Regions from separate parts of the Homo sapiens genome. Here regions 1, 2, 4, 5, 6 and 7 are each linked to region 3. The links are contacts of gene promoters, found by promoter capture Hi-C in blood cells and fetal thymus (Javierre and others, 2016). All regions are on one chromosome and are shown on one strand. The core of a region is centred on a gene start or on the middle of the fragment in contact, and the rest is flanking DNA. Distances in the headings are between cores, read along the strand shown. Region 1 has its middle 29 kb from the start of TPRG1-AS1. Region 2 has its middle 34 kb from the start of TPRG1-AS1. Region 3 holds the start of BCL6 (BCL6 transcription repressor). Region 4 holds the start of TBCCD1 (TBCC domain containing 1). Region 5 has its middle 43 kb from the start of TPRG1. Region 6 overlaps LPP (LIM domain containing preferred translocation partner in lipoma). Region 7 has its middle 11 kb from the start of TPRG1-AS1.

The links. The method cuts DNA at HindIII sites, captures the fragments that hold promoters and counts their contacts. A CHiCAGO score of 5 or more calls a contact.
Region 1: a fragment that was not itself captured here is called in contact with the fragment with the promoter of BCL6 in region 3 in 2 of 17 cell types (erythroblasts and naive CD8 T cells); the score reaches 7.3 in erythroblasts.
Region 2: a contact is called between a fragment that was not itself captured here and the fragment with the promoter of BCL6 in region 3, in 1 of 17 cell types (naive CD4 T cells). The highest score is 6.7, in naive CD4 T cells.
Region 4: the fragment with the promoter of TBCCD1 here is called in contact with the fragment with the promoter of BCL6 in region 3 in 2 of 17 cell types (total CD8 T cells and naive CD8 T cells); the score reaches 6.1 in total CD8 T cells.
Region 5: a fragment that was not itself captured here is called in contact with the fragment with the promoter of BCL6 in region 3 in 6 of 17 cell types (naive CD8 T cells, naive CD4 T cells, total CD8 T cells and 3 more); the score reaches 16.8 in naive CD8 T cells.
Region 6: a fragment that was not itself captured here is called in contact with the fragment with the promoter of BCL6 in region 3 in 3 of 17 cell types (naive CD4 T cells, total CD4 T cells and naive B cells); the score reaches 9.3 in naive CD4 T cells.
Region 7: a fragment that was not itself captured here is called in contact with the fragment with the promoter of BCL6 in region 3 in 5 of 17 cell types (endothelial precursors, megakaryocytes, total B cells and 2 more); the score reaches 12.2 in endothelial precursors.

What each region holds. Positions count from the first base shown.
Region 1 is chr3:188,974,248-188,978,387 of GRCh38, forward strand. No RefSeq gene overlaps it. Among named protein-coding and RNA genes, the nearest start is that of TPRG1-AS1, 29 kb to the left of the region's middle. The HindIII fragment of the contact is 907 bases long and covers 1,748-2,654 here.
Region 2 is chr3:188,911,597-188,915,295 of GRCh38, forward strand. No RefSeq gene overlaps it. Among named protein-coding and RNA genes, the nearest start is that of TPRG1-AS1, 34 kb to the right of the region's middle. RefSeq lists a silencer at 2,884-3,178. The HindIII fragment of the contact is 9,743 bases long and covers 1-3,699 here.
Region 3 is chr3:187,743,725-187,747,866 of GRCh38, forward strand. BCL6 (BCL6 transcription repressor) reads right to left here and starts at 1,744. Exons shown (of 10, transcript NM_001706.5): 1 at 1,686-1,744. It overlaps BCL6-AS1 (BCL6 antisense RNA 1), which reads left to right. Exons shown (of 2, transcript NR_173091.1): 1 at 1-320; 2 at 1,520-2,302. RefSeq lists an enhancer at 857-1,382. The HindIII fragment of the contact is 3,720 bases long and covers 1-2,636 here.
Region 4 is chr3:186,565,615-186,569,326 of GRCh38, forward strand. TBCCD1 (TBCC domain containing 1) reads right to left here and starts at 1,725. Exons shown (of 8, transcript NM_018138.5): 1 at 1,653-1,725. RefSeq lists a silencer at 1,629-1,918. The HindIII fragment of the contact is 1,727 bases long and covers 211-1,937 here.
Region 5 is chr3:189,127,099-189,131,297 of GRCh38, forward strand. It overlaps a transcript of TPRG1 not described here. Among named protein-coding and RNA genes, the nearest start is that of TPRG1, 43 kb to the right of the region's middle. RefSeq lists an enhancer at 917-2,116. The HindIII fragment of the contact is 5,198 bases long and covers 1-4,199 here.
Region 6 is chr3:188,759,730-188,763,955 of GRCh38, forward strand. It overlaps LPP (LIM domain containing preferred translocation partner in lipoma), which reads left to right. Exons shown (of 12, transcript NM_001375462.1): 9 at 384-553. Among named protein-coding and RNA genes, the nearest start is that of MIR28, 73 kb to the left of the region's middle. The HindIII fragment of the contact is 1,155 bases long and covers 890-2,044 here.
Region 7 is chr3:188,934,782-188,938,804 of GRCh38, forward strand. No RefSeq gene overlaps it. Among named protein-coding and RNA genes, the nearest start is that of TPRG1-AS1, 11 kb to the right of the region's middle. RefSeq lists enhancers at 2,596-3,097, 3,217-3,718. The HindIII fragment of the contact is 1,954 bases long and covers 804-2,757 here.

The sequences.
Region 1 (4,140 bases), core at 951-3,450, 1.2 Mb after region 3:
TCCATTCTCAATTCATGCAGAGCAATTATAACTACCCCCTCCCCTAGTTGTCATTTGCATGTGGACCTTTCTCTTTCCCTTGCTTGGTAATTGACTTGAGACTGTGTTTTCCCTGGTTTTTGTTTTGTGTTTGGTATCTCCCTGAGAAAAGCCTGTTTTGGGCTCTGCAGGTCATGTGTGTTGTGTGACCCTGGAGGAGGGACACTATTCATAGCTGATAATGTGAATAGGGTCCTCCACGGTTCTGTGATGTAGGGGTCCTGGCCATAGGGCCTAGCGTGCTGCTGTCTCTGTATGTATTAAACATTAGTGACTCTTTTTCTGTCCTTAATACTTAAGCCCTGTCCTGAGGCATAAAATATTACTGTGTACTGACCCTGAATTGAAAATTTTGCACTGTATTATTCAGCTTCAGGCCTAGCTTTCAATTTCCCATTTCATTTTCGACTGGACTACACTGGTCATTGCCTTGAGAGATTTTTCCCAGCCACAGAAGTCTTCTGGTGAAGACGGTCTTTAGACTGGCAGGGTTTCAAAGTAAATATAAGTAAAATAATTGGCAAGTCTGATATTTAGGCTTTGGTGTTTTAATCCCCAATTCTTTTGACACTGGGCACATCTCAACAGCCAGGCTTGGAAGTGGTGGTGGGGGAGAAGGACATCACAGCGTATTTCTGCTGCACTCTCCTCTTTCCACTCTCATCTGTATAAAGTCTTTGCAGCATCTGTGAAATATTGTGGTCTAACTGCTATTCGATTCTTGGTGGACTTCCGTTTCTTCCTCTGTGCACTGGGACTAATCATACCCACATCTGAGGGTTGCTAAGGAGTGACATGAGATGCTATGTGTATGCCTCCAGGCACAGAGCCAGACCCCTGTTAGGTGCTCACAAAAGCAATAGGTGAACATGAAACCATGGTGACAAACAGCCTGCTTCTCCTCTTCTCTGACAATGCTTGTCTAGATTGGGGAGCTCTGACATAAAACTTTCTGTCTTACAATGAGAGAACAATCTATCTATGTGTAACTTCCATCTATGAGACCCCTGGGCGAGGATGGTGTGTCTTCCCCTTTTCTTAGCGTTCTCACTCTGTCCCGTAGTGAGGACGGACAACAGAGAGCTGCTGTGGTCAGCGAGCCGAGGAGCCAGACAAGGCTCTGTGGTTACGTACTTATTTAGTTTCTTATTTATTACTTTTGCAGTTAACATTTTTTACAATCATGTTATTTTGTGGTTTATTTGCAAAATGCATTGTGAGCCAAGTTTGCTTCAAATGTGCTCTGAGTCAGAAAATGGTTACATAGGGGACCCAGAGAGATGGGAGGGGAGGGTAAAGAGCAGCTGCAAGAACATCATATAATAGATATATCAGTTATTGCTCCTTGCTTTGTAATTAGGCTACTCAAGGTAGACGGAGAAATGGAAACAATGCATAATAGGCTCATGTGCGGCAGCGTGAACAGACTCTTCTGCCTCAGAAGTCAAATGCAAAGGGGCCAGCCTGGGACTTGGGGAAGAGAACCCTGGAGAGAGCTTCACTCCTGCTTAACCACCCATGAGCACCAAAGCAGCATCTTTGAAAATCTTTGGGAGACAACAGTAGAGCTTGGTTAGAGAGGCAAAAGTGACGGATAATGAATTAACTCATAAATACTATTAGAGGGTTTATTATAAATTGTTTTTGAAGATTTTAATAGAAACGAAAACCTAGTTTTCAGAGATTAGCTGAAATAAGTCCCAAGAGAAGCTTTGCCAGAAGCCGCTTTTCCTTTTAACTCTCTGTTCTTCCTTTCTCACCCCCCCAGGCAATGGTAGATTCCTAAGAGGACGCCTGTTGTTGGTGAAGCCCATTTTGACTGTGTTCAAGTTTGTTCTTGTATTATTCCATCTGGTGGCTCCCCAAACCGCTTTCTTTTTTTACTCTCCTTGTAAATATTTACATAAGAAGGTTCTTGCAAAGGCAGGATCCTATATTGGTGGATTGGCGCTAAGCAGAGTCTTGACGTGTTTTATTCCTTTTACGAACAATTCGGTTAAGTGGATTCTCTCCCAGCTCATTAAAAAATAGCCTTTTATTTTAATAACACCATCAGAAACTAAATAGCATCAGAGGGGAAAATAAGTTTGCAATGTGCAGCCTCAAGTGGCAATCTCTGAGCCACTGTTAGTGGTTGATGCAAGAATTGGTGATTGTAGTTAGTGGCTAAAATGCAGCATGCATTTAAAGGACTCATCTCCCTAGGCAGAACAAGGATCTGTGGTGTTTTCTGGGACAGCTGAATGCATAAGAGATCAGATAACTGGATCAGGAGATCAAGACTTGGTTCTCAAACTTCAGACTTCAGCTCATCTTGCCTTCCTCCCTGAGGCACTATCTTTGTTTGCTTTCTCTTCGCCGCCCTCCCTCTTGGACAAGTCCATCCTTGCCCACAGCTTTAACTGATACTTCTTTAGAGGGAGCAGTCAAACCTCTCTTTTTAGCTTTAACTTCTCGTTTGAGCCCCAGTTTCTGCATTCCCAGTTTTTCTGGACATTTTAAACAAGATTGCCATCGCAACCCAAACCTGACAGGACCAAAGCCAACCTCAACTCCTTCTGAACCTGGTCCCACTCTTGCTCTTGTGAGTGCTACCTTCCAGCCCCACCCAAACAAGCTTAATCCCAAAATCTGTCACCTTTGCCCCAACCCTGCATCCCCAAATCTAAAGCAGTTGCCAAATGATGTTGATTTTAATACTGCATGAAGACTTGCATTGGTACATCTGTTTCTGTCCTCGCTGTCATTGTCCTAGGCTTCCTTAAGCTCTATACATTTATTCATCCATGTGCTCATTCATTCAACATACGTGTTGATTGGATGGTTCCTGTATACTAGATATCTAGCAGGTGCTGGAAATATAGAAGTGAACAAGACAAAAAGAGAATTTGAACCTGTTCTCACGGGGGAAGATGCACATCAAAAAATTTATGATAAAACTTGTTAAATTTGACCATATAGGAAAAATAAGAGAAGTCACAGGCTTATCTGTCTTCTGATACTACCGAGCCCTGCAGCATGATGTTGCCATGTTCATTTGTCTGACTATGTCACTTTTCTGCTCAAATGCCATCAGTGCCCCTCAATGTTACCTATTTATTTCACAGCATTTATTTACTCATTCATTCATCATTCGTATGTTCTTTTGTTCTCCTTCACACCATGCTCTTCATTGTCTCCATGCTCTTGCTAATGTGGTTCCTTCTGCCCACAGCACTCTCTTTATACCTCACTGCACCCAGCCACTCGTCACTTAGTTAATTGAAGAGACACCTTGATTAATGCAGATGTCAACACTTCAAGGAAGACATCTCCACTCTTCACTGAAGCCTTTCATAACATGCTCACAAGCTTTTTCTCCATCCTTTCATCCCATCCATTAGGTACCCGTTCACTCTTCATACTTCCAGGACAGCATGATAGCATCTGATACCAATTAGTCTGTTCTGTGACACTAACCTTGACATAAACTTAGTGTTTGTAGAAAGTCTTTGAGTTAAAGCCTCCGTTTTCCCTAACACACAGTTTGATTTGACTGACCCCTCTGGCCTTTGTCACTCTGGCGTGGGGGTAGAAACTGTCTCCTTTAAGATACAGTCTACAAGAGCGTCTATTCACTGGGTTTCTTGGTTATTACTGGATTGTGTTAGATTTAAAACATGCGGAAGAGACAGTTTTGGTATGACCATTTATTATGTGACCTGGAATAAAAGGGAAGTGCATTATAAAGTTGGGCAGCAGCATCTTCATAAGAAGTATTCTTGTTTTTCCTAGGAATTTCTTAAAAAAGAGTAGAAGAGGTAGTATTGTTCTGTGTTTCTTTCCTTTTTTCTTCATCCAATTTACAGATGGGAAGAGGAGGTTTAGAGAATTGCAATTTGTACATGTTACAGTGGATTAGAAGAGATGATAGGGTTATTACAAATCAGGCATTATGAAAATAAATTTTGATATTCGATCACTTGCATTTTCATGGCTTCAGTGAAATTTGATTAGTGGTGTTTTGTTCAGTTAGTCTACTGTGTTTTGACTTCTTCATATTTAATGCCCTCTCACCTGACCGTTTCACCTGACCAGCATTCCTGAGAATGCAGAGTGTCA
Region 2 (3,699 bases), core at 850-3,349, 1.2 Mb after region 3:
GAGAATGCAGTACAGCCTGATACCTGTTTCAGGCATGTGGAGCAGCCCATACTTCTTGTACTTTCCAAGATCAGAGAGAAAGCAAACTTGACCTCAGAGCCTAAATATTTGCCCCATAGTCAGTTAATACCTCATTTGTATTCTTCACTTGCCTTTATGGAACAGTTTAATATTTTATTACCTGTGAATTCCCTCTCTCTCTCTCTCTCTCTCTCCCCCCGCTCCCCACCACCCCAAAGAGAGAAGTGGATATCTATGATGTGGGAGTGTTGATTCAAAAGCTAGATTGAGTTTATCCTAGGATGGGGATCTGTCTGAAGAGGACTAGAAGATCTATGGTGATAGGTCAGCAGGTGATTATTGCAGTGGTGGCCAAACAACCTGCTAGAAAGGAAGGTTTCTAAGGAAAAAGAAAGAGTGAAGGCCTGTAATAAAGGTCCACAAAAAATGGGGCATTTGAAAAGAGAGAGTGTCTATTCATTCTCAGAGTGTTGTACCCATTGACTTCTGAACTGCCTGCTGCCTTAACTCATGCCAAAGCTCAGGAAAATGGATGCTTACAAAAAGTCTGAAACCAAGATTTCATTGACTACTTAGGAGCACCAGGCAGCTCCAATTTGGGGTCCATAGAACATCATTCTATCCAAATGTAAAGAAGGGCTGCACGAAGTAGCTCTGATGCTTTGAGTGTGCAACTATGAGTGATGTCTGCATGTTTAATAGCTCATATGCAGTGGAATTTCGGATGGTAGCATAGAAGGTTTTGCCTCAGTCCAGAGTCAAAAGAAAGAACTCGTAAGAACGAAATGAAATATCCCAAATGATGCACACGTAAGTCACCTCAGGCTTCTCAGAACTAGTTGTAAAGGACTTTATGGGGATTGTAGGTGTACAAGATTGTTTAGGGACTAAAATCATAGCCCCACATTTACTGCCAGGCTAAACTGGTGTATTAGTCTGTTCTTGCACTGCTATAAAGAAATTCCTGAGACTGAGTAATTTGTAAAGAAAAGAGGTTCAATTGGCTCACGGTTCTGCATGTTAGGCAGGAAGCATAGTGTCTTCTGCTTCTGAGGAGGCCTCAGGAAACTTACAGTCATGGTAGGAAGGTGAAGGGAAAGCAGGTGTCTCACATGGTGGGGGCAGGAGGGAGAGAGGGGGGGGAGGTGCTGCACACTTTAAAATAACCAGATCTCATGAGAACTCTGTCATCATTAGAACAGCACCAAAGGGATGATGCTAGCCATTCTTGAAGGATCCATCCCCGTAACCCAATCACCTCCCACCAGGCCCCACCTCCAAAATTGGGGATGAGAATTGAACATGAGATTTGCGTGGGGACACAGATCCAAACCATATCAACTGGTATATAGAAAACATGGGATTTGTTGTTATAATTATTATTAATATTTACAAAATCTTTAGTATAGTACCTAGCATATAATAGTCACCAAATGTTATGGAATATTATAAAAATTTCTAATACTGACACATAAACACCATAAATATGTTGATTATTTTGTCTGAAACTGTAAGACATTATTTTCATTTGAGAACTATTTACCATTCTGACTAGTGTGAGATGGTATCTCATTGTGGTCTTGATTTGCATTAGGTGCCCATCAACAGTGGATTGGATAAAGAAAATGTGATACCTATATAGCATGGAATACTATGCAGCCATGAAAAAGAATGAAATCATGTCCTCTGCAGCAATGTCGATGCAGCTGGAAGCCATTATGTAAGCAAATTAATGCATAAACAGAAAACCAAATAGCACGTATTCTCATTTATAAGCAGGAGCTGAATATTGAGTACACATGGACATAAAGATGGGAACAATAGGCACTGTGGACTACTAAACAGGTAGGGAGGGAGAGGGGCATGGGCTGAAAAACCTATTGGGTATTATGCTGATGACCTGGGCGATGGGATCATCTGTAAGCCAAACCCCACCATCACAAAATATATCCATGTAACAAACCTGCACATATACCCTCTGAATCCAAAATAAAATTGGAAAAAAAGAACTTTTTTATCTGAACTGTAAAATTTTCATACTTTTTTACATTAATATTTTCATACATGTACATATTTTCACATTAATTTATATTTATATACATCTCTAATATAGATATATTATATAATATTTAATATATTATCATATATAGCGTACATTTTTATGGTGGTTTTGGCTTGATAACTGTTTTGAGTGATATGTGGGAGATAGAAGGGAAGATAGAAATCTTACTAAATATGTCAAGGTAATATCTCTCATATACTGGGAAGGTTTATATGCCAGTTCATTCCTCCAATGTGTCCAGAGAAATCCCTGGATATATGTAGAAAGATTTCTAGGCTGGACATGGTGGTTCATGCCTGTAATCCTAGCACTTTGGGAGGCTGAGGCAGGAGGGTCACTTGAGGTCAAGAGTTCAAGACAAGCCTGGGCAACACAGCGTGACCCCATCTCTACAAAAAATAAGAATATTAGCTGGGTGTGGTGGCATGTATCTGTAGCCTCAGCTACTTGGGAGGCTGAGGCAGGAGGATTGCTTGGGCACAGGAGTTTGAGGCTGCAGTAAGCCATGGTCCCTCCACTGCACTATAGCCTGGGTGACAGAGTGACAGCCTTTCTCAAAACAAACAAAAAAATATTTCTAACATCTTTCTTTCTGTTTACTACATAACACCTAAATTAATTATCAAACAAGAACTAATTGGGCACAGCCACATTCTTAGCTTCTCCAAGCCTCAGTTTCTTCTCCTGCAAAATGAAGATAGTTGTAAAGATTAAACTAAACTGTGTACGTAAAAAGTTCTTTGGAAACTATAGAACAATGCAAATGCAAGGCATTGTGACCACAGTTAGAGAACAGGCTAGGATATTTGTTGATTGTCGTTGGTATTATGGAAATTTGCTGCTTTCTTTCCTATGAGAAGGGTTCTTCCCTTGTCCTGTTCTTATCAGTCTGACTAAGTCACCATTTCAAAGCTGACAATTAAAGCTCAATTTCCTTGCACTTTGTCCTAAAGCAGATGTCCTAGAGCTGGGGACCATAATCATGAAGCGTGTGATGCATTCTCAGAGTTGGAGAGCAGTGTTTCCAGAGAGTCTGAAGATTAGGCATTTCCTCTCATTTTTCATTTTTGTCAGCTTCTTCATGTTTTCCTTGCTAAGTAAGAAAAGGCCTCGGTTTCAGTCTGTCATTGTATGACCCTAAATGAGTCACTTCTGTATTGGGTTGTCTTAGGTTCCTCAACTGCAAGTGTCTAGTCTTCCACTCACATGCAGCAGAGCAGCTCCACATTTACTTATGTTACTCAGAGGGTTACTTCACATAAGACTTTATAAAATAAGTTCCATTGTTAATTTCTCTAAACCAGTTGGACTACATCTTTTCATGTAAAACCTAGATGATCTCTGATACTCTTGGTTTTTACATGTAGATTCCACGATCCCTTCCTGGGAAAGTCATGTAACCAACTATAACATAGGAGCATTAAACATTTTTAGGTAATAGAATTAGGAAATAATGGCTGTGTAAGTATCCATGTGAATTCCTGTCAATAGTTCTCATATCATGTGCTTAGAATGATTTCAATCTGACTGAATCTTGCCAAGAAACTCATAGCTCTGCTTTCCCTGCAAATATGAAGATGTGTCAACCTCAAAGAGTTGGTTAAACTTTCTGTTTC
Region 3 (4,142 bases), core at 494-2,993:
CCCCCCGCCCTTTCTCCCCGCCCGCCCCCGGAGCTCAGCCGATTTCTGAGGCTCCAACTCTACCCACTCCCTCCCCGGGCCGCCGCCGCCGCGCCTTCCCCCATTCTTACTCCCTCGAGGAGAGCCACAGGTTGCAAATCCAACCAACCTCGCAATCTATTTTTGCAAAATCACTCACAAAGATCTCCCTTTCGCGCCCGCGCCCGCTCCTCCCGCGCCGGGTCCCCTCAGCCACGGCCACAAAGTGCCCTTCTCTCCTCCTGAGTCTTGCACATAAGGAACGCGGGCTGGGGCTCTGTTCGTCTTTCTCCTCGCCCAAGGTAAGGACCTCGGGAATCTGAAGCCTGGCGTCCACTACGCTCAGGCCCGCAGTTCCCTTTTTACAGAGCTTGCACCATGGGAAAAAATAAAATAAAATTTAGGAAAGGGAGGCAACAGCCATTGGGAGCCAACACAGAGTCACGCAGCGCCCAAAATACAAACACCGCAGCGGCCAGAAATCCCGCCACCTTTCTCGTTCTCCCAGGCTGTCCTGTCGAGGTTCCCTGAGTCCCCCCGCACACTGAAAGGCATCGCAGGTGCAGTGCGCACCCCTTTCCCACCCACCCCAAGAAGCCCTGTCCCGCCATCAGTCTCTCTCCTCGGGATGAGCAGGGAGAGCGCGCGGAGGTTCCCGACTCCCTCGACTACAACCAAGAAAGAATAATTTTCAAAGTGTTCAACATCCCCGCCCCCAAGCTCCCCAAAACACAGGGGCAGGGAACACCAAAACACTCGGCTCTCATTAGGAAGATCACGGCTCTGAAAGGAAATAGTAGACACGATACTTCATCTCATCTGGATTTATGACCAAAAAAACAAAAACAAAAACCCAAAGAGTTCGCTTGCATTTTTTCCTTCCAAATCTCGGTTCGGCTCGAAGGCAGGGAATCTAAAAGACCGAGGCCGATGGAAGAGAGCCAGCGGGGCGAGCGAGCGGGCAGCCTCCCTTTTTGCCTCCCGGAGTTACCCAGAAGGACAGGGGAAGGGAAGGAAGAAGAGGCGAGGAAAAAGAGGAGGGAGGGAAGCGGAGGCCAGGAGCGACGGAGCAAGGAAAGCAGTTTGCAAGCGAGAAAAGAGGGAAAAAACACAGCCGCACGAATCCAGAGAGATCACAAGCCGTACGCAAGCAGCAGCAGAAAGAGCGAGAGCGCGAGCGCGCGTCCTCTCCGCGGTCTGGGGCCAGACAGCCCCCAGACTAGCCCGAATCACCCCCCAAGCACTGTCTCGTCCTCTCTGCTCCGGCCGCCCCCTAATTCCCCTCCTTCCTCTCCTCCACCTCCTTTCCAAAAACCAAAACAACACAAGGGAGGGTGGCAAAAGCCTCCCCAAACCGGCCGATTCACTCAAAGACAACAATAATAATAATAAATACATAACAATCTATATCCTATGGTGGGAGAGACGTGGGACTAATCTTCGGCATTTATTTTAACACCTGACAGCTAGAATAAATAAATATATACATTTATATCAATAGATACACATAGAAAACTTGGAGCCAAAGCATTTGGCAAGAGCGGAAAAAAAAAGAATTAAAAGGTAAAATAATGATCATGAGCAGCGGCGGCGGCAGCGGCACCAGCGGCAACAGCGGCGGCGGCGGCAGTAGCAGCAGCAGCGGCGGCAGCAACAGCAATAATCACCTGGTGTCCGGCCTTTCCTAGAAACTTCTTGCATCACCACTTCTAAGAACCCCAGTTCTAAGAATCAACAGAGCTCAATTCTCGGAATTTGAGCTTCGGACTTTACCACTGCTACGTGGCAGGGGAGGACTTGGTGTCAGCTCTCCGAGATTTTTACTGCCCCTGGCCAACCAAAAGCCCTCAAAGCCACAAGATTTTTTCACTGGCCGGCATATTTCGAGGTCCTCATAAGCAGAGCGTCTCGGATTTGGAGGTTCCGGTTCGAGGCTCGAGGGGCCTGAAGGTGGCTCTCCCTCCCCGGGCCCAAGACGATGGTATGGCCTGCTCCGCCACCATCACGTGGGCTCCTCCTCTGTGACGTCGGCGCCTTCGCTGTAGCAAAGCTCGGCCTCTGGAATTCTGAGAACTAATTTGCTATTCGGTGACATAAGAGGGGGAGTGCGCTTTGCTTTCCCGGGGTCTGGGGCTAATTCCTTCTTTCTTACCCATAAACTCAGCAGATCGAGCTAAATGCACAAAAGGGAGCGAGAGGTTTGAACCACTGGGAAAAGTATGTTATATATATAGTAGGGTTAGAGAGGCGAGTAAGAGAAAAATAAAATAAAATAAACATCACAGCTCTTTCCAACTAGAATATTAGGCACCACGAGAAAAATATTTGCCAAGCAGTTTTCGGTGGGTTCATTTGCTTTATTTTTATTTAGGACAGGGGTTTTTGCTGTTGTTCTGGGTTTTTTTCTTTCTGGTGTGGTGGCTTGGGATTTTTGGTTTCTGTATTTTGATGGTTTATGGATTTTTGCTTCTGATTTTTTGCCTTTTGCAAGTTTGTGGTGTTACGTAAATCACAGGATCGGCATCGGTTGGATTTTTTTGTACGTGCCTTTTCTTTCCCTATCTAATCCCTCAAGCGTTTTAAAGATGTATTATTTCAATACTAATACTATTGAAAGAAGCTTAAATTTTTGGCCATATGTAACAATCCCAGCCCCCACTTTTTTTTTTTTTTTTTCCTTTGGTGCAATTTTCTTTTTCCCCCTTGGACTTTTGCTGAAGTGTGTCTCTCCTGCACTTCAGAGAAATGTTCAAAGGATTTGTTTTGGTTTGGTTTGTTTCTTTCCAGGACAGCAAGTGGTGGGTTTAATCTGTTATTGTTGACTCTTGGGAAATTTCTTGTTGCAAGAAACGTGTGTGTGGGGGGGAGGGTGGGGGTGGCGGGGTGGTATGTGTGTGTTTTCTACAAAATTCTGTGAGCCAAATACCTGTTTGTGTTTTGTTTTCTCTTAAGGTCTTGAGATTTTTGTTTTCGAGGCTCGTTTCAAGGTCGTTGTAAAAAAATCTCTTCAGTCTGTGTTTAAGAGATCAGCCGGAGGGAATTCTAAAGGCCTGCCGTGCCAGTATCACAGATACTGCCTGTATTTAGAACAGACTGCCACAACTACAATGCACTACACGCAGCACAGTCTTCTTAGCTTTGAAGCTGAGTTGGGGGGTGGGGTGGGGGGGGGGTAGAGAAGAAGGAGAAATTCTTTCCTTCTCTTTTTCTCTATTACTTTCTTTTTAAAGGCAATTGCAGTGCAGAATCATTTCATTGTGGGTCCTAGTTTGTTTGTTCAGAGCTGCTAGTTTCCTTATTTAAATGTTGGTTCGGGTTTTTTCCCCTCCTACTCATCCCTGAATAAGGGAGACTCTTGTTTCTTTTATGTCTCTCTCTTAAAAGAAGGGTGTGAGGGGAAAATAATATTTCAGATTCCTCAAGAATTAGCCCAAAATGTTTGGACCAGAAGCAGCTTTCAAAGGTCAGGCTGTTCTGAGCCTTGGCTATGAGAGTCCTTCAAGCGACTTATTAAATTACAGATGAATTCTTAAAGCTTCCACAAAATCTCGTCACTTGTTAATTTCTAATAAAGATATGTCTAAAATAATCTACCTATCTCAACCCAAAATTTGGGTTTATAATGGAGGAGTGATCAGAGCTGTGAAAGATTGCTGTTTGCTGGGATATTTGGAAAATCTCTTTCATTGACAGTCCCGTAAGAAGTTCCATCTATCACCGAAAATGTTGTTGGCAATGCACCCCCCTACCCCACAACACACACACATTTTTAAAGGCTGTATTTTAGGTTTTAAAACCCAGAAAGGTGCAAAGAGGTTGATTATTTTCCACAAGGGCTGGAGCTTAGGAAATATGCGTTAAAGTGTCTGTCCCTGTGAAATCTGAATATTTTAATACTTATTGACAGATGGATTACTGCAGCCTCTGCAGAAAAGCCTGTCTTGTGAACGGTTTTTGAAAAATATACATAGGCCTAATCCTGTCACTGTTGTTGAAATGTACGTTTTACCCCCAAAGACACATGATATTGTCAAGTTCAGATTTATTCTGCCAGAAGGCAGACTATCTGCTTTTTCATTTGAGTCCCCTTCCTTCTCATTTTCAAAGAAATTAAAATGAATCCC
Region 4 (3,712 bases), core at 475-2,974, 1.2 Mb before region 3:
ATTATTGAAGTGGGGTAATGGGTACGTGGGGGGCTCACTGATTCTATTTTTGTGTATGTTAAAAAATTTCATTACAAAAGTTCAAATGTTGTCACAAGTGTAAATAATGCTATCACTACCATCTTTCTTCATATTTTCTGCATTACGAATTATTTCTGTGTGAAAATTTTCAGATGTACTTTTGTGAAATTAAGTAATTGACATTTCTAAAGCTTGTGAAATATATCCTTGTTGCTTCCAAATGATTTTATCAAATTGTACCATCCTTTGACTCTGGTACCTACTTCACTGTGCACTCCTCAACATTAGCAACATCATTTTTTTAAAAATATAAAAACTAATTTAAAAAATCAATTATATGACTGATGAAAATTTTATTGCTATTATTATATTTTGCATTTGATTCTAAGAAAACTGTGCTTCTCTCTTTTTTTTTTTTTTGAGACGGAGTCTCGCTCTGTTGCCCAGGCTGGAGTGCAATAGCTCGATCTCGGCTCATTGCAACCTCCACCTCCCAGGTTCAAACGATTCTCCTGCCTCAGCCTCTCAAGTAGCTGGGATTACAGGCTCCCGCCACCACGCCAGGCTAATTTTTGTATTTTTTTAGTACAGACAGGGTTTCACCATGTTGGCCAGGCTGGTCTTGAACTCCCTGACCTCAGGTGATCCGCCTGCCTTGGCCTTCCAAAGTGCTGGGATTACAGGCGTGACCCACCGCACCCGGCCTGCCAACTGTGCCTCTCTCGAGAATCATCTGTTCGGAAAAATAACTGACATCAATCGAGTGCTTACTATGTACCAGGTATCATGCTCATGATTTTGCATACTTCACCTCCTTTCATCCTCACAACCACCTGGAGATACAGTACTTAAGACTGTACACATTTTCGATGAAAAAAAAATGAGGCTTAGCGAAGTTAAGGGATTTCCCTAAGGACACCTACTTAGCTGGCACAGCTCTAGATTAGGATTCAGGTCTGACTTGAGAACTGCATTACTATAAATGTACTCTAGGAATCCAGTTTTGGGAGAATCTCTTAAAAACGGGAGTGGATCCAGAAGAGAATTTCCAGAATAAAGAGTCTTAGACAGGAAGCCAGGTGAAAGAACCAGGGAGAGTAAACTCAAAAGAAGGGCGTGGAAGGGCAAAAGGCAGCTGTCTTCCAATGTGGAGAGACTGGAGTCGTTTTGAGTAAAACCAGACGATAAAAGTTAGGCGAGGAAGACCTCGGTTCTCTCCAAAATGTAAAGAGGCTGCTCTGTGAGGTACTGAGCCCCTGTCAACAGCCAGATCCCAGAGATGAGCCCTCCATTCTAACTCCGAGAATCGAGAGGGCTCAATCCGTAAACAAACATAAACTGGGGCTCTGACCCTGGCGGTGCCCTGAGGTTAAGGTTTTTCAGGTCGGGAGATCGGCGTGGGTCCAAGGCGGCTGTCCTGGGGCTTCGCCGCCACCTTGGACGCGATCCGGGGTGGGACTCTGCGTGGGCCGCCCCAGCGTCGCGACCGGACTTCAGGAACACAGACGCTCACGCTGACAGGGTCGGTAGCTGACCCGAGACGCGGTAAGCGCGAAGGCAGCCTCCTCGACCCAAGCCTGAAGCCTGACTAACCCACACCGCCCTCCCCGGCGCACCCAGTGCGCGGTTACCTGCTAATGCAGGCGCCGCTCCGCCGCACTTCTCCGCGCGCCGCCGCGCCCGGCGTCCGCTCGCTGGGCCCGCCCCTCACCCTCCTCCGCGCGCCGCTGCCGTGCCCACTGCGCAAGCGCGAGGCCCCGCACCACCGAGACCTGGCGGACCCCGTTGCTAGAGCGGCAGATTGCGGCTCAAGCGTCTGAGAAAATCTAGGCTGGGGTCGAGAGTCCGCAACAGTGGCACCTGGAGCCAGACCCACCGCTTTCTGGTGTCGCGCCTTTCAACCCGGGGGGGTAGGAAGCTTTCTGTTGCTCCGCATAACTGTGGTCAGCTAATAGCTGCTGGTAAGATCAGCACGCTTTCATCAGAAATGCTACTAATACTAATGGCAGTTTGCATTTATAGAGCACTTACTATGGTCTCAGCACTGTGTAAAGCAACTTTATGTGTATTTCCTAAGTCTTGTCAAGAGCCCTTTAAGTACATTCGTTTTACTGATGAAGAAACTAGGGCCTAGAAAGGTGAAAATAACACAACCCTAAGGTCACACAAGAGATGGAGCCAAGATTCAAGCCCAGGGCGTCTGAAGCAAGACTGGCACTCCCTGCCGCCCCTCGGTGTCAGCTCCTTAACTCTGTTAGCTTTCCTGCCGTGTTTCCACCTTCATGAAGCTTTTTCAGATTACCGGGCAGAAGCCATCACTCCTTCCTTTAAACTTCCATTTCAGAATTTCTGGACATTTCCTGCTTTTTTTAGTTCCTTTATGGCCTCTCTAGGTGTGATAGATACAAAGGTAAATTAGACCGTAAAATGCAATTTAGTTCCTCTTTTGTGTGGCCATTGTCCCTACTGGGTATCTTCCTGAAAGCAGGGGCTTCAAATTTACACATACCTGGGTTAGGATCCAGGCTGCACCACTTATTAGCTCAGTGACCCTGCTGTTACTTGTTGAGTACCACTGTGTGTCTGGCACAGTGGTACGCACTAGAATGACAGAAGTGAACAAAACAGACAAGGTCCTTGCTTTCTTGGAGTGTATAACAGGGAGAATAGACAATACATATTAAGGAATAAAATAAGATAATTTCAAATAGTGAAAAATGCTATGAAAATTGGGGCGGGGGGTCAGGGAAGGCCACTTTGTGGTGCCAAATTTGAGCTGAGGCCTGAAGAGTAAGAAGCCAGCCATACAATGATCACCATCCCAGTAACTTTGACTCAAAAGTACTTCAGCACCTACTCCATGCCAGGCACTGTTCTAAGGTGCTCTTTTATACAGCTGTGAACAGAACAATATAGATTCATGCTCTCATGAAACTGGCATTTCAGTGTGTAAGTCTAGGGACCAGGGATGAAAAAAATAGGAGGCCGGGCGTGGTGGCTCATGCCTATAATCCCAGCAGTTTGGGAGGCTGAGGCGGGTGGATCACTTGAGGTCAGGAGTTCGAGACCAGCCTGGCCAACATGGTTAAACCCAGTCTCTACTAAAAATACAAAAAAATTAGACGGACATGGTGGTGTGCGCCTGTAGTCCCAGCTACTCGGGAGGCTGAGGCAGGAGAATCGCTTGAACCCAGGAGGCGGAGGTTGCAGTGAGCCAAGATCACGCTACTGCTCTCCAGCCTGGGCGACAGAGCGAGACTCTGTCTCAGGAAAAAAAAAGAAATAAAGAAAAGAAAACAGGGTGGTGTAAGAGTAAGGAACTCAGTAGGGGCTAATTTTGATTAATTGGTCAGGGAAAGTCCTCCCTGAGGTGGCGACCTTTAAGCTGATATATGAGTTAAAGAAGGAATCACCCATGCTAGCACATGAGGGAGAGTACAGTGTTTCAGGCAAAGGCAATAGCTAGCACAAAGGCCCTCGGCAGGAATGAGCTCGGTGTATACAAAAAAAAGAAAGGAAGCAAGTTTTGCTGGAGCATGGTTAGGAGTATAATAGGTTTACAAAGCATAAACGGCTTTGTAAACTAGCATGGAGTTGGGATTTTATTCTAAGTGCAAATGAAGAGCCATTCCAGGCTTTTAAACAGGGGAGTGACATGATTTGACTTTTATTTTTTATTTATTTATTTATT
Region 5 (4,199 bases), core at 918-3,417, 1.4 Mb after region 3:
TTTCATGCTGTTGATTCACAGAAAGCCTGTTCCTCTTCACTCCGTAGAGTCCTCAGAGTCTGGATCATCCCTTACAGAAGATCCTTGATAATATTTCTGATATACCTCCAAGGTGAGTAGAAGGAACTATGGGAGTGGCAACCAAAAAGGAAAATTATGATGCCTATAGGAATTTGATTTCAGTAGCCAGAATAGCATTGAGGCCACAAAACCATTACTTAGGTGTCTGCTCCATCAAAAACTGGGATCCTAAAAGGCAAGATGTCAGAACTAGAAGGATTTTAGAGATCATATAGGTGCTGACATATGTTAACAAATGGAAACTATTGACACAAGTTAAAATTGTATCTGCCACAGTGTATATTATAACCAATGTGCCAAGTTAGTGGTCAATGGGCCTCTCAACTTTCAATTTTGAAAGTCACGTTTGCTTTGGAGATACCGTAGGGCATCTTGACATGAACATGACACAACCTTTGTCCTTAAGACCAAAATAAGAGATATCAATACAATGTGAATAACATGTGGCTATACTCCCAGGTAAAGGTCTTAAGGTCTTTTTATAGCAATGTGGAGATTCAGAGAAAAACAAACCATACTTGATTTGGAGAATAAAGGAGGTAAACTCACAAAAGAGATGGCCTCTGGGTAGAACCTTGAGGTCCAGATGTTATGGAAGAGAAAGAAGTATGAAATCAATGGCCTTTGTGAGGTAGAGTCTAAGTTGTCTTCCCTCAGACTCAGTTTCTCACTAGGAAAGTGAAGTTAAGCATAATTCCCTATATGCTTAGCTGGTATATGTAAAAATGTTGTGTTCAAAGTCTTCCTCCTCTTCTCTTTCATTCTTTCCCCAAAACCTCACTACAGGTCCCAAGAGGTGGGCTCCTACTTTAGTCTACCAGGACCATCTTATAGGTTGTTGCTGATTTTGATCTTTCCTCACAGCTTAAAAAATCTGCACAGTATTTTTATCATTGGGCTTTTGTGGGGAGTGAGAAGTAAAAATAACTTAAAAATTTTAAAATAAATTTTGCACAATTGCAAGATGAGTCAGAAAGGGAAAATTCCTGTTTGTCGTGTACTCTTAATGAATTCGTTTTGCTAGAGTCTTGTGATAGATGAACCTTTGTGCAGCTCTCCTGGAGCATGGGCCGCCATGGCCCTTGCATGGAATCATTGTACCAGAGCTGTCAGTATTGTGCAAAGACGGCCTGGAGGAGGGAAGAAGACACCTTCAAGAAAGGGACAGAGTATTGGAAGTCAGGTCAAGGTAGGTTTATCAGATTTAGGAAATAAAAATACAGGGCATCTAAAGAAAAAAATTGTTTTAAGTATGTCTCAACCATAACATGAAACATATTTATACTAAAAAAGTTGTTTATCTGAAATTCAAATTTAACTGGAGTCCTATATTTTATCTGGCAACTGTAGTTGAATGAGATGAAAAGGTCAAAGAGTTAAGAAGTAATAAAGATATTTTTATAAGGGTTTATAATTTTCGAAGTGCCCTCATGTTCCTTATCTCATTTTGACCTCATATCAACAAAATGTTGGTACTATTTCTCTAATTTTAGTGATAATGAAAGATTAGGCTGAGAGAGCTTAGGTAACTTACCTAAGGACATGCCACTGGTAGGTGTCAGTGTTGGCTCTTCAACTCAGTTATTTTATTATTAGCATTATTTTTTGAGACAGAGTTTCGCTCTTGTTGTCCAGGCTGGAGTGCAAGGGCGCAATCTCGGCTCACTGCAACTTCCACCTCCCGGGTTCAAGCGATTCTTCTGCCTCAGCCTCCTGAGTAGCTGGGATTACAGGCGTGAGCTGCCGCACCCGGCCCAACTCAGTTATCTTTTAAACTTCTTATTTTGAGATAATTTTAGACTCAGGAAAAACAAAAACAAAAACAACAGCAGCAGCAACTTCTCCTAATGTTAACATCTTATCTACCCGTGGAACAATGATTAAAAACTAAGAAATTAACTTTAGTACTATTCACTAAAGTATGGACTTTATACATATTTCATCAATTTTTTCACAAATGTCCTTTCTTATTCCTAGGCTCCAATTCAGAGTCCCACGTTGCCTTAGTTGTCAGGTCTCCTGCCATCTGTGACAGTTTCTCACAGTTTTTCCTTTTCTTTCATGATTGTGACACTTTTGAAGAGTACTGATGAGTTATTTTGTAGAATGTCCTTCAATTTTGGTTTTTCTGATCTTTTCTTGGGACTATACTGAAGGTATTGCAAAAGATACCACAGCAGGGATGCGTCCTTCTCAGGCTGTGATACCAGGTATATTATGTTGATATATATTATTGGTGACATTAACCCTGATCACTTGGTTAAGATGGCATCTGCTGGATTTTTCCACTGTAAATTTGCTGTTTCCCCCTTTGTTATTACTAAATATTTTGAGAAGTGACACTTGAGACTATAAAAATATGCTGTTTATACTTAAACTTTCCCTCATTAACTAATTTTAGCCTCTTGTGGTGGATCTTGCTTGTTGCCATTGTTATTATGATGTTGTAATGGTCATTTTCTATTTTCCTCATTTTCTCTATATTTATTAACTGAAACTCTCTGTTGGAAAGAGTTGTCGCTTCACTCCTTATTTAAGCTCAGTTATTTTAAGTCCAAGACTATTGCTTTTTTCACTAAAGCACAGATGAAGAAAAAAGTATAGGATTTTGAGCTATGGTAAAGTTATGATTGTTTCATGTGCACAGTGGAAGGAGTATGAAAATAATTTTACTTATTTTACTAACATTGATCAAACATTTACTTCTATACAGGGCCTTGTGTTAGGCATTGTGAAGGAAAGAGAAATGCACAAAAAATCTCATGGAGGCTGATAAATCAAAGATAATACTTAAGGTACTCTTCATAAGAGGGATAATAAAACTTCTCAGCTGAATGTTGAACTGATAAATGATTATGTTGATGACTATGGCAATGATAAGTGAATTGTAATGCAGTTATCAAGCACTCATGGCAAGCTCAGCTCTGAGTAATATAGAATATCCTCAACCAGATGATCATGATGTATGTACAGATCTTGGCACATACATCATGTGCCATGGGTTCTAGGCACATGCATAGTACCGAGTATGTTGGGTTATAAGCACCATGAGATCTTTCTCATAATTTATAGAAAGAAGAACTCAACTAGACAATAACTATTTTGACTGTCTTTAGGATCCATGATTCCTTTCTGCCTGGGAGAGATTATGAGGCTTCAGAGAATTCAAACATTGCTCCTCATTAAGGAAATGGTGAATTAACTTACATGTAGTACCTGAAAAAATTAAACTTCTATTCTCAGTGCTTTCTTAACTGGCCTAAAATGGACCTTACAGGTATAATCTCAGTAACTCAAATGTTATCAGAGGAAAATGGCCTGGCATGGTCAAAACGTAGCAGATTATTTTAACCAGTAGTTAATAAAACTGAACAACAGCATGAAAGAGAACACCAATAGTCCCTTGACATGGACTGTAATAGGATGAAACTAGAGGCAAATGTAGATTCCCTTCTGTGAGTGTGAGGGCTCTACTATCAAGCAACCATTTATATATTCTGGCAGAATATGAACTGCTTAGGACACACTCATAATGTGATGTGAAGAGTACCAATGTCTGTTAAAAAAATCCATTTGAAAGTACTATTTAAAAAATCCAACAGTAGAGCTATATATTCCAGCTATAACAGGCTTTCATTTACATTCTTCCTCAAATGCAGGTCATAACCTGAGTTTGAGATGCAGGGAATGACCTGCGTTTTAGAGAAGAGGAAAGTGAGGTTCAGGGCCATATGTGATTTTTGCTAACAATGGTGGATCTTGAGCTAGGATCCAAAACTTCTGATTATGAGATGTGTACTTTTTACCTCATGCCATGTTACCTCTGGCCGGTAAAATACCTAAAATTCTGCACAACTCTAAGTAACGTGATCGTATGTCCCACTTTGCCCAGAACAGTTCAGATTTATCCTTTTTGGCAGCATAATTAGTAATAATCTTACCTTTTACTCTAAAAAATGTTTTAAATCGGAGCAGCGATTATGTAGTAATTTCACTGATGGGAGGGCTCAGGGAGATTCCAACTTGGGCTTCAGTGTTTAAATTGGTGCTAAAGAAATCCCTAATGAGTTACTTCTATACATTACAAAAAGGCAATATCATTTAAGATATTATGTAAA
Region 6 (4,226 bases), core at 217-2,716, 1.0 Mb after region 3:
TGTACTGTTTTATAGATTTTGCCTTCCACTCCAAACATCCTGAGTCATGTTCCTTTTATACTTGCATGTGAGATGAGAGTCAGAGCACTGACCTCAAAGCCAGCGACCGGGTTCTACTGTTCCTTTCTGCAAGAACTTAGACTATGAGACTCAATCCCCTCAACCGATTAATGTAAAATCCCCTCCATGCCAATCTTGCAGAGGATAGGGGTGGCTGTACTGGTGATCTTGCTGGGGTAATGGGGTAATAGTACTGGGGTAATGACGGCAGGAGTGGTGGTTCTATTGCTGCTGACGTTATGAACCTGCTTTCTCCTCCACTTTGGCTTTAGCAGGACTGAAGTACTCCTTGGTGTGTTCTTATCAAACCCTTTTTTTTCCAGGCCGCTGTGCTCGCTGTGGAGAAAACGTAGTTGGGGAAGGTACAGGATGCACTGCCATGGATCAGGTCTTCCACGTGGATTGTTTTACCTGCATCATCTGCAACAACAAGCTCCGAGGGCAGCCATTCTATGCTGTGGAAAAGAAAGCATACTGCGAGCCCTGCTACATTGTAAGTTCCAGATTTGTTCCTCAAGCACTTTGCAAAGATGTCTTCTGTGGCTGAATGCCAGTCACTCTAGATAGAATATAGCCATCAGATCTTTGCTTCTTCCTAGACTTCAAAATGTGTGTGTGGGGTGTGTGTGTGTGTGTGTGTGTGTGTGCGTGCGCGCATGTAAATTAGCATATTGTAATTTTTTTCTACACATCCCCCATTCATAAGCAGTCAGAAAGGTGTATTAGCATGGGACTGCCATTCAGTTAGTGGTCTGCTGGGAAGATCATCAGCCTGTGGCTTTCTAGCATGTATGTACAAGCTAAAATTTTCTTTCTTAAAGCATCAGAAAGCTTTCCAAGTAGCTGAGTCACACCTCTTATAAGATCTCACCCTACATTTGAAGTGCCCAGTAGTTTCAAGGAAACTTTACAGAATCTCTGGACTTGTCAGTCCTCTTCCAGAATACTGGGCCCTTTGAGTCCATTTTTATCTACCAAAATGTTTCTTCCCCCTCTTATCCAACAGGTTTTTAATGATGCAAACAGGGGAACTGTTTATTATAAAGCACCTTAAAGAGAAATGAACAGTAATGCTGACTGAGCTAATCATTGTTTTCTTTTATTACAGAACACAAAAACTATATTTTAATAATATACCTGGGTAACTAAAAAATTCTCAGTCATGTTACCTTAGCGTTTTACAATGCTACTTACTTAATCTACCTGTTAAACTATTCTCTGGTAGAGTAATTTGATGAATGAACACAGACTTTTTTCATCTATTGTAAATTTCTTTGCTATCCTTCAGCATGATTTTAATCTTTGTTTAACACATGTTGATGGGAAAAGTAGTGTTTTTTGTTTGTTTGTTATGTAAACCCACAAAACAGTCATGGTTTGTCCCTCAGTGCCCAGAGATTTCAACATAAAAGACACCTTGGTTTCTTTACCAAGGTATTGGGAGTCATACTTGGCTTTACAAGGTTCACATTTATTGAAGACGTTTTTGGCCTGGTTGGTATTTTCCTATAACTTGGCAGCTCTAACCCATTGTAACCTTGGGGTCTGTAGCACAGATCTGAAAGTTCATCAAGATTAAGGCTTCGTAGGATTAAATATGGCTTTGCATCTGTCTTAGGTTCAATTTTATTTCGTTTTCTTTCCAAAGGTAACTTAATACATGTAACATCATTTCTTTCCAAAGGTAGCTTAAACACATGTAGAGCCATACAGTGGTAGAGTTGGAAAAAAAATCTTAAAATCATTTGCGTAATTACTCTCTTTAGCAATGAGAATGCCAAGACATACAGAAGAGGAAAGCGACTTCGTATGACCTATCATTAGTGTCAGAACCAAGGCTGCATTCCGTTATTCACGCTCCACAGTCTTAGATTCTTTGCAGATGCTACATGGTTTTCATTTTCCTAAACATAAAGATAAACAAAGTAATGTACTGTTGATCTGGAAGGAGCAATTATGCATAAGCGAAAGTCTAGTAAACAAAAGCTTACCTCTTTAGAATATAAGAATATTTCAAATATCTTTGAAATCTTTATTGAAAAAAGAAAGGCATTACATAATTCCTTGCCTTTTTAAACAGACTAAACCGGGTGTCATTCACAATGGCTTGGCACCACGTTTATGAAATTATTTATTGCCACGAGCCCTAAGGTAGTGATGTTGGCAGAGTGTGTAGAGGCACCCAGGGTTGTCCTTACACCAAGTAAACACATACTGCTGTGTTTTTTTATAGCTCCTGTCTATTTTTTATCCCTTTTTGACTCCATAGTTGATTTTTGCTACTTTAATGATGCTACTGTGGCAGCAGCCTTCTTCAGTTGTTTTGTTTCAACCCTTGTTAGCTTGAAATCATATAGACAGTATTGGGAAACAGTGTAACAGGGTGGGAAGAACATGAATTTGAATTTCGTTACGTCACTTAGTGCCTCCCCTCCTTGGGAAAATTATTTACTCTTTCTAAGTATCAGTTGCCTCATCTATATAATGGGGACGATGGCAGTTATTTTCCATGAAGAAGAAATGAGACAATCCTAGTAAAGCACACTGGGCCTCTTCAGGAAAAGTAGTGGAATAAATGTTATTCTGGGATTAACTTTAATGATGTTTCTGAAACTGTTTAATATTTCTGAATGTGGGAACCTTACATGTGCAGTGAAATTCACTGGGCTTTAGGAAATTATTATAACCTTTCAGACATACTCCTCGCATTTTTACATGTTTGCTTGCTTTTCTGAGTGCGTAACAAAACTGGAGAAGGTCTAATCTGATTAAATAATAGGTTTCTACAGTGTGTGGGCTCAAGTTTCTATCTCCATTCCAGGCATAGTATGGGTCTCTGTGATTCTGTAGGATGCCAGCCCCTTCTTCTTTGGTTTGTTGTTACTATACTATGCTTATGAGAAGGAAAACTATCCGGGAGATATTTAATCGCGTACTTGGAAGAACTGGGTGAATTCAAATAATGGAAATTCTAACCATTTTTTTTTTTTTACTTCTTTCCCTCATAAGAACATTTAATCAAGGTTTTTCTTTAATGAGATCTATTCGTGGTGACTCTAAAATGTAATTTAATTCTTATCAGAATTCAGTTAAGCTTTACCAAAGACCCTTGTTCAATATTGATTCGAGTTCAGCACAGTCCTCAAGCCCTCAGATGGATGTATCAGAACTTTAATTTCTTCTGAACTTTTATATGTCCAATAAGCTGCATACTAGAAGTGTAAGGAGGTTGAGGAAATTGGGCAAATGAAATAAAACAAGTTGGCTTTGAAGATAGTTTGCATTAAGGAGAATCCTAGAACTATGCGTCTCTCTTGGAACCAAAAGCCTTAGAACAGGAAGCATATTCTGTGTGATCCAGCAAAATTGCCTTTGGTTACACTGTTGAAAACTGATGTCTAAAAGGTATTCCATACAAACCAGAGCAAACCTAGCCCTTGGCCATCAGTCAGTGTGCCTGTCTTTTTTTTTTTTTTAATTGATGGAATGAGAATATTCAAGATAGTGGCTTAATTATTTTTGTATAAGGACCAGCATGTTTGATACTCTGAGTTCAGGAATGAGACCAGTCTAATGTAAATTAAATTTACTTCTGCCTAAATTGGTTGTTGATCAACTTAAGATCCTATTAAAATTAAAAATTTACATGATTTTGAGGGAAAATGCACCAGTAATGTCTGCAGCTTTGGTTCAATGATTTTTAATATTTTCCTGTGGTTTATTGAGTTTGTTCTTAATCTTTGTGCTTAAGTAGTTATGATTAAACAGTTTGATTCAGTATAGCATTGTAATTCTCTTTAATCATTTTACATATTTTGTTTTCTATTTTTTATTTATTAACATAATACAAATGTTCATATAGTTTTGCATTGTTAGTATTCATTTTTAGATTTTTATCTGTTTAGTTTTACATTTAGATTACACACTTCATTTTAAAACCATTTGCCAGTCAAAATGTATTGTGTGTTTTGCAATCTTTTAGAATTGTAAATAACATGCCTATAGATAGTTAATAAAAATTTTATTTTTTATTTTGAATTACATCCTTAGCATAAATTCTTTGATTTATATTACCAAATCAAATTTAATCTGGAGGACTTTTGCATTACCTTGCTAGATTTCTTTAGAAATATTTTTCTAATTTACAGAACCATCAACAATAATGA
Region 7 (4,023 bases), core at 531-3,030, 1.2 Mb after region 3:
TCAGGCGATCCACCTGCCTCAGCCTCCCGAAGTGCTGGAATTACAGGCGTGAGCCCCCACACCCAGCCGGTGATTTTTTTTTCAAGCTCATCAGCTACTGTTAGTGTTAATGTACTTTATGTGTGGCCCAAGACAATTCTTCCTCTAATGTGGCCCAAGGAAGCCAAAAGATTGGACACCCCAGAAACAGTCTTGAAAACTTACTAGAACTTTGGCAGAATTAGAGAGGGAAGGGCCTGTTGGAGCAATGGAGAGCTTAGAGATTTTGGGGGGAAAAATCTTTTTGGGGGAATGGCAAGGGTCTGAAGCTTATTGGAAGACAGTCATGAACAAGCGGTCTGGAGCCAGACGAGTGCGGAGGACCCTTGAGAAACAGATGAGGTTTGGTTTTATTCTGTAGACAAAAGTGCCTTTGGAGGTGTCAGAGTAGATCAGATCAGAGCACAGCTTTTGTGAGAAAAGTGTGTCAGTCGTAAGCAAATGTACGGTGCCTTGCTTTCTTTTCCTGCTCCCCAGCAGGCTGGGTTTTAGGAAGGAAAGGCTGAGCAAAAGCTTAGGAAATGGATCTGACTGACTACTCCCACAAACCATTCTTGACCTTCTTTTGTAAATACCCAATTACCTGTTCATTTCCCCAATTAACTCATCAGTGAAATCAAATCAATCATTATTAATTCTAACTTTAATAAACATTTTTTAGTTTACATATATGATGCTCTTCCTCAAATCATAAATAACTGCATGATGTGTGTGAACTTTCCAAAGGTAGTTTAGGTGGAGAAAAAAATGACATTCAGTTAACAAGCTTATCAGAAGCTGAATCATTACAAATGACAGATATTAAAAATGTAATTAGAATATATATTGTCTAGGAAGACATGCCATATTAATTAGGGGTAAAAAGCCTATGTTTCAGCTCTCAGAATATAAAGTTGAAAGAAGCCTGTGGATTAATATCCATAATCATGGGCAGCGTTGTAGCATGGTAGGTTAGCACAGCACTGTAGTGTCAGAGCACCTGAGTTAAATCCTGGTTCTGTCCCTGTGAGCTATGTGACCCCAGGTAAGTATATAATCTCACTGAGCTTTAGCTTACCCACCTGTAAAGGTTAGATGAAAACAGCATTCTATCTCAGAGTTGCAAAGACTAGGTGAGCTAATATATTAATAAGTAGAACTCTCAGAACAGTGCCTGCTGTATCATAGATGCTATGTAAGTATTACCTATCATTATTTACTTTTTTTTTTTTTTTTTGAGACAGGGTCTTGCTCTGTCACCCAGGCTGGAGTGCAGTGCACAATCACAGCTCACTGCAGCCTCAACTTCCCAGACTTAAGCTATTCTCCCACTGCAGCCTCCTGAGTAGCTAGGACTACAGGTGCATGCTGCCGTACTCAGCTAATTTTTGCATTTTTGTAGAGCTAGGGTTTTGCCATATTGCCCAGGCTAGTCTCAAATTCCTGTGCTCAAGCAATCCTCCCTCCTTAGCCTCTCCAAGTACTGGGATTACAAGTGTGAGCTACCTTGCCCAGCCAGCTATCATTATTATTATTTATTTTCCCTTCACCTGCAAGGAAGAAGGGAACCCAAATGTGCTTGCGGACTTACTATGTAACACTTTTATCATTATTTCCTCATTTAACTTAATATGCTCACTCTTTACATAGGTTGTTATTATTAACCAAGATTATATCTATAAGGAAATTATGAGGAATTAAGTGACCTTTGTGGGGTCACTCAGCCAGAAAGTGGCCCACTGAGATCCAGGATGATCTGGTCCCAAGTTCCCAGCTAGCACAATGAACTCCCTTATATTGAGACTGTTGTAGGCAAGAGTGATTGTTCCAGTTTACTATGACCAATTTGACTAGGCATGATGGATTATTAATGATGGGAATAAATATATTTTCCTTTCCTGTTTTATTTGCTGTAATATAAGCAGTGCAAGACACTTTAACAGACTGGAGTGCTGAGTTGCCTGGTGCTCCACAGATATGATTCATTGTCGGTTCCATTGTAGATACAGACTGAGACAGACAGGAGGCAGCCCAAGAAAACTAGTAACAGCCTCTTGCTGATACTTCATGACCCTAAGGGAGAATGAAGCAGCAACTGAGGTTGAAGAAAATCCACCTGATAGGTTTAGTCAGTGAATGATTACAACCGCTTACATGTGGAGAGCTGAATAGTCACAAAGCCCTTTCCCATATTTACATATTCTCTACTCCTCATAACAACCTGAGATTGCTCAGGCAAGAATCATCACTGGGTTTGACTATTGAAACCAAGAAGGCCTGTAAGCAGCAGAGCGGATTTTGAACTTGGGCCTTTTCTCATTCAATTTTGCTAACTATCATAGTAGAGAAAAGAATGTCAACGTAAAAGGCAAAGTAAATAACTCTGACTTTGAGATGAACATAATGGGTATCCTTTAGATGCTGAGAAGGGTTTTATGGTTCTGTACTAGCACTGTTTGCCTTACGGTGATGTCTTTGCTCCTACAGAAAGGCTTAAGCTCAACCCTTTGGGGTATTAAAAAGAACAAAAGACTTGTCTCAGTTTTTATCCATTAAGGCAGGATCCGCTTCCACCTCCAGGAGTAGTTATGTTCTCCAAGGGGATCGGAGTGTGGGTCAGGGTTCAAAATCACTTCACATCTGATGTCAGACCTTGTTGTACCTCTATGCTTCTTTGATCCAAGTAGGAAGTAATTCTAGGAACTTCTGACCCAGTATTCTTGGTGGTGGTAATTTAAAAGCTTCATTCTTGGCATATTTGTGAGGGGCCCGTCCTGCTACACCCAGTCTCCCGAAGGAAGCAGCTGATTGAGTTCTCATCCTGCCTTTGTTTTTCTCTTTCAAGGAAAAATTCTTTGAGAGCTGAGTATGTCTACATCACACTGGCCTCGTGCCTTCCCATTCCAGACCCTAGATGACTGGTGAAAAGCAACGTTCTCTTCTTCAATTGCACGGTCGACTAATAGTGTGGTACTCTTCACCTGGGGAAATTATTTCACACCAGTCTGGTACTTGGCTGGGCTTCCTTGTGACTTAAGTTTGGAAACATTCAGGGGTATACCTTTTCTATCAGTCAAAGCTAAAGTTTCTACTTTTAGGAGAATTCTTTTCTAGCTCTATGTGGGATATTTTCCCCATGTTTATTATTTCCTTAATGGGGACACAAACTTCATCATGGTCAGGGAGAACTCCGATTTGATTACTTGCAGTGTGGGGTAGGAGAGAGTCAAGAGAAAGGGAACTTAGGCTTCATGTGCTGGTTAGAAGGGCACAGCAGGAGAGAGAATCAAGAAGATATTCGAAGTAGGAGGTGATTTTCCAGTATGCAAGAACAACATCTACATCTTGACAACAACTCAACGATATGTGGAACATGCTTCTGTTACCAGGGGTCTTTGCTCCCAGAGCTCCCAAGATGGTGGTGGGCTGCTTCCAAGATGGTGGCGGGCTGCTTCCAAGATGGTGGCGGGCTGCTTCCAAGATGGTGGCAAGCCTCGTATTCTCTGACGTGGGGTTCTCGGCCTCACGGATTCCAAAGAATGGAATCTTGGGCCATGCGGTGAGTGTTATAGCTCTATTAGGAGCCGTGGGTCACGGAAGAGAACCATGGAACCCAGTGACTAGTGTTCAGCTCGATTAGGACGAACCCGGACACTTAGCTGTGCAGGAACAATGACAAGCCTTTAGCCCGATCAGGAGCAGCAGTGGGCGCCTTGCTGGATCAGGAGCACAGCGGACACCCTGCGGGATCCAGGGGGATGGAAGTCAGCGGTGGGTCTGTGACGGCGGCCAGCATCAGTGGGCGGCGAGCGAAAGCTCAGCTCCAGCCGTAACAAACAGGGACCAGAAGAGTGCAGTTGCAAGATTTAATAGAGTGAAAACAGAGCTCCCATACAAAGGGAGGGGACCTGAAGGGGTTGCCATTGCCGGCTCGAATGCCTGTGTTTATATCCTGATCATTGTCTCTTCTGCTGTGCTCTCAGGCGATAGATCATTGGCTATTTC